Linked DNA regions of Homo sapiens: region 1 is linked to region 2. The links are contacts of gene promoters, found by promoter capture Hi-C in human tissues and cell types (Jung and others, 2019). All regions are on one chromosome and are shown on one strand. The core of a region is centred on a gene start or on the middle of the fragment in contact, and the rest is flanking DNA. Distances in the headings are between cores, read along the strand shown. Region 1 has its middle 3.9 kb from the start of OR6X1. Region 2 holds the start of OR6M1 (olfactory receptor family 6 subfamily M member 1).

Region 1 (2,733 bases), core at 19-2,518, 48 kb after region 2:
ACCCACCTCGGCCTCCCAAAGTGCTGGGATTACAGGCGTGAGTGAATGCAATTTTTATTCTGTTCAATCTCACATTTCTGAATACATGGCCATTTTTATATTATTGACCAAATTGACTACCTTTGATTCAATTCAGTTCATTAAAGGACCCCATTTATTTATTAAGATGTCAATAATTTTCCTTCTTGGAGAACTGAGAAATCCAAGATCTAAAAACTTACAAAATTAAAAGATTCTCAGACTTTGGTTAATTACCTCAGGAGTGCAGGAATGATTGATACCAATTAGAATTTAGAAAACTACAAATTCCTCAGCTTGACTTGTGAATAAACTTTTAGTGAGAACTTCCCTATCTCCTGGGACTCTCTGGAGCAAATCCATGCAGACTGATGTCTCATAGGAACCTGTGAAAATGTCCCACTAACAAATTGTTATTTTCAGAGAAGGTATCCTGACCTAGCAGGAACAGATGAATTAATTACTCTCAATACAATTCTCCTAAATGCTGAAGAAACCTTGCCATGTCATGAAAGCTTTATGAATACAATTCAGTAATGCATAAGGACACTTGCATTAAAGTATAGAAAAAGAGATTCATTTTCTGTGCAGAAAAAAAAGAAAAATTTTCTGTTCCAATTATACTGCCTTTATAACCCAGCTCTCCTTTTCTGTCAGTCTACTGTGGGCAAGGACACACCTTGCGGCTGGAAGTGTTTTCCTGGAAATCAGTAGTGCTGTAAGTATTGCTTTGTCACCAAGAAAGAGTACTATTTTGGAAAAACCTTTGCTTTTCTCTAGAATGAATTGATACAGCTAGACTTGACCCCTTGAAGTCTTAAAGTAAATCCTAATAAATCAATTTTGGTATCATGTAGAAAAGTCATCACAATGACCTGGACTTGGATCTTCCTCAGAAAAGCAGTCTTTATTCACCACATCTTACCTAGAACCATCAGTCCTTGAAAGGAATTTCAAATTGGTTCTTCATTCAAGTTTCAGCTTAGCACAAGTCCCCTGAGTGATGAATCTTGGTTTATTTCTCTTTGTGAAGCTTATTCTATATGTACTTAATGTTTCTGTTTTAGAGTTCTACACCACTGGGCATATTCAAATTTATTCCATAATCAAAGTCTTGAAAATTGAAATTGGTCTTCATCAGCAATTTAAAAACAAACAAATAAATAAACAAACAAGACTTGGAACATTTTGCTGTTATCCAGAGAAGAAAATATGTTAATACTTTTCTTCTTTTTGTCTTCTTCTAAAACTATAAAAAGTTTTAGAAAATGTGGGATTCTTTATCGCACAACAAAACTCAGAAAAAAATGACTCAATACAATTTCAAGCAATTGAGCATTAAATGAGTTAAGAAAATTATCTGTACTCAGGCAGCCTGAAGAAGCTGGGAAAAGAACCAGAACACAGTAAAAACAAAACAAAACACCAGCATATCCCTGATTAGGGAAAGATGGAGCAGAAAGGTTTTCATGCGGCAAAACTCACATCAGAAAAAGTTGGAAGCAGAAGAAAACTTGGAGACAAATTATTTAGCAAAGAGTCCCTGTTATGATATGACTTGAGCACTTGAAATACAGGAAACGGTGACATGTATAAACATGTGCATGTGTCAGTTTCCATAAACTTCTAGGTAACTGGGGACAGAGTGTCAACAAGCTATCCATTTATATAATCATTTAGAAACTATGTTTTGAGAGCTTATTTTGTGTCAAGCTCTATGCTTCGGCCCTGCAGACACTGTTGCTGCCTGCAAGGGGCTTAGAGTCTATAGCAGACACCAAGCAAACAATAAACACAATTCTGCAAAGTGTTCAGGTATAGATATGCACAGGGCATTAGAAAAGTGTGTAGGAGCAGCACCTTAACTGGACTAGAGGTGGCAAGTTAAGGAAGGCTTCCCATGGAGGTGGCTCCTAAACTTAAATCTAGAATTCAGACAAGACTTAGCCAAATAATGGAGAAAGTCGGGAAGGGTATTTCTGGTGAAGAGAACAGCAGGTGCAATGACTGGGAGGCAAGAAAGAAGATGGCATAATTGGGGAACTAGAGCAGGAGTCAGCCAGCTGTTTCTGTAAAGGGCCAGATAGCAAACCTTTTAGACTTTGGGGGTCATATGGTCTCTGTCACAATTACCAAACTTCACCATGATAGCACAAAAGCAGCCACAGGCAATAGGTAAACAGATGAGTGTGGCTATGTTTTAGTGAAACTTTACAAAAACAGGGCCATAGTTTGCTAACCTCTAAACCTGAGTAATTCAGTAAGTGTGGAGCATAGAAGAAGGCAGAAGGAAAAATGGCAAATGGCAGAAAATCATGCTGGAAAGGTAGGTAAGACCAGATCATCGGTGGTCTTAAATGTCATGCTGAGGAGTCTGGGATGTTAACTTCAAGATTCTGAGGAGTGGCGTAGTCAGAATTCGAATGGTCCCCCTTGCTACAGTTTGAACCATCGGTAGGAAAGAGCACAGCAAGTCAGGAGACAGGGAGTCCTGTTAGGAGGCTGTGTTCGAATCCTGATGGGAGATGACAGCATGATTTACCGGAGCCAGGGAGAGACGGAAAGGACACACACTAGAGAGTGAGTAAGAAGTAAAGTTAACAGGATCTGGTGACTTGGACCCTGGTGGATATGGAGGAATCCATTTGACCCTATACATTGTGACTTTTTAAAAGGAAGAAGAAGTCTAGAGTGTAGGATTGAATTGTAATAGGC
Region 2 (2,700 bases), core at 173-2,672:
CTAAATTGTTTTAAGAAAAAGGAAGAAAGAAAGAAAAGAGAAAGAAAGGAAAAGGAAAAAAGCTAATTACAAAATAGTCTCCTAGTATGATTTATTTTAGATACACAAGTATGTACTTTGAACTTTAAAATAGCCTAAAACTATATACACCAAAAGGTCACTGTATCTCTAAGAAGTTCGATTACAGATTATAATTTTCTTTTCTGCACTTGCATTTTTTAATTCTTTGCACTAAAAATGTCTTTCTTGTATAATAAAAAGAAAAATAAAATAAGAGGGTAAATTTTTTATCTTGGAGGAAAGTGCAGGGGGAGTTTGGAAAAAGAAAAAGAGGTGGCCACGATCAGTAGCAAAGAGTGGAGGAGATGCTAACTTATCTATTAAGGATTTATTAAGGAGGTGCTAAGTGATATCTAGATAAATAAAGCACCAAGGTCAGAGTTAAAGCATGGGCTGGTTTTTACCTAAAATGGGGAGGTCTCTGCAAAATAATCATTTCTCACATTGTGGGACAAAGAACAAACTAGATGATCTTGAAGTACAGTTTCACAATGTCGGCTGACAAAGTAAATGAAGTGAGGTGAATTACCTCTATGTTGCCTTCCTGTATATAATTTGTGCCTCTCTGATGTTATCACACTATATACGGTGCTCTCAAATGATCAGCCAGATATATGATACATATTAGATACTGCACAGAACTTGTAGAAGGTAGGTTTTAGACACAAAAGCATAATCTAAGGGCGAGACACTCATTATTTCTTTTTGAGGTGTCATCTAAAATGATTAATAGGAACCGTCAGCTGTTGTTCCTTTTAATAATCTCTGGACAGTTTTCACAGATCTATACATGCTAGGGAAAGATGTTAAGAATTCGGAGACTCTGGATATCTACAAATGTAGAAAAAACTAAATCAACCTTTATTAAATGACAACCACCAAAGTGAAAGAAAGTTTGTTATAGAAAAGACTTTACGTTTCTAAAGGATTTGCCACTCAGGAACTGTAAACCAGAATAATAGAAGGGCATTCTGATTAAGTATACATCAGTACATTAGCACATTTTTAGCTGAGAAAATGAAGCCAAAAGAATAGAAAAGATTAGAAATTTCATCAATGAAAAGGAATAGAATTTTATAACTAGAAGGAAGTTGAGTTTTTTTTATCCAGCCTTATTCCGTCATTTTACAGGAAAAACAAACAAACAAACAAAAAAAAACCATGTACCTAAATAGTATCTTGACTTTCCCAGTGTGGCACAATAATTAACTTGCAGATAGAGGACTACATACCAGGTCTACATCTCCCAATATAAGCCACTCTCCGCAATACATTCTCAGCAGATATTTACAAAATTACCTAAGCTGATTTTCCTTTTCTTGTTTCTTCAGGGAAACCCTGCCCACCATATAGTAGTTGTCATGGGAAACTGGAGCACTGTGACTGAAATCACCCTAATTGCCTTCCCAGCTCTCCTGGAGATTCGAATATCTCTCTTCGTGGTTCTTGTGGTAACTTACACATTAACAGCAACAGGAAACATCACCATCATCTCCCTGATATGGATTGATCATCGCCTGCAAACTCCAATGTACTTCTTCCTCAGTAATTTGTCCTTTCTGGATATCTTATACACCACTGTCATTACCCCAAAGTTGTTGGCCTGCCTCCTAGGAGAAGAGAAAACCATATCTTTTGCTGGTTGCATGATCCAAACATATTTCTACTTCTTTCTGGGGACGGTGGAGTTTATCCTCTTGGCGGTGATGTCCTTTGACCGCTACATGGCTATCTGCGACCCACTGCACTACACGGTCATCATGAACAGCAGGGCCTGCCTTCTGCTGGTTCTGGGATGCTGGGTGGGAGCCTTCCTGTCTGTGTTGTTTCCAACCATTGTAGTGACAAGGCTACCTTACTGTAGGAAAGAAATTAATCATTTCTTCTGTGACATTGCCCCTCTTCTTCAGGTGGCCTGTATAAATACTCACCTCATTGAGAAGATAAACTTTCTCCTCTCTGCCCTTGTCATCCTGAGCTCCCTGGCATTCACTACTGGGTCCTACGTGTACATAATTTCTACCATCCTGCGTATCCCCTCCACCCAGGGCCGTCAGAAAGCTTTTTCTACCTGTGCTTCTCACATCACTGTTGTCTCCATTGCCCACGGGAGCAACATCTTTGTGTATGTGAGACCCAATCAGAACTCCTCACTGGATTATGACAAGGTGGCCGCTGTCCTCATCACAGTGGTGACCCCTCTCCTGAACCCTTTTATCTACAGCTTGAGGAATGAGAAGGTACAGGAAGTGTTGAGAGAGACAGTGAACAGAATCATGACCTTGATACAAAGGAAAACTTGACACTGGTATACACTACATTAAATACATTTCTTTTTTTATTATTTTTTTTAAGTTCCAGGGTACATGTGCAGGATGTGCAGGTTTGTTACATAGTTAAACGTGTGCCATGGTGGTTTGCTGCACCTATCAATCCATCACCCATGTACTAAGCCCAGCATGCATTAGTTCTTTTTCCTAATGCTCTCCCCAACCCCCAGCCCTCCCCCAATGGCACACATTTCTTATCTTCAACACATTCTTTCTGCACGACTATGGTGGTGTTTGGTGTGCCAGAAACTGAGATGGTGCCCCAGGATGAGCAATGATCATGCCAAACTGAAGGAAAACTCTGATCATG

What was found. The method cuts DNA at HindIII sites, captures the fragments that hold promoters and counts their contacts. A contact is called where the count stands out against the background at its distance.
Region 1: a contact is called between a fragment that was not itself captured here and the fragment with the promoter of OR6M1 in region 2, in 1 of the 25 tissues and cell types used here (pancreas).

The regions. Positions count from the first base shown.
Region 1 is chr11:123,757,062-123,759,794 of GRCh38, reverse strand. No RefSeq gene overlaps it. Among named protein-coding and RNA genes, the nearest start is that of OR6X1, 3.9 kb to the right of the region's middle. The HindIII fragment of the contact is 5,008 bases long and covers 1-2,733 here.
Region 2 is chr11:123,805,071-123,807,770 of GRCh38, reverse strand. It overlaps OR6M1 (olfactory receptor family 6 subfamily M member 1), which reads left to right and starts at 1,422. Exons shown (of 1, transcript NM_001005325.1): 1 at 1,422-2,363. The coding sequence starts at 1,422. The coding sequence ends at 2,363. The region is part of intron 2 of LOC105369544 (a long non-coding RNA gene); the gene reads right to left. The HindIII fragment of the contact is 10,727 bases long and covers 1-2,700 here.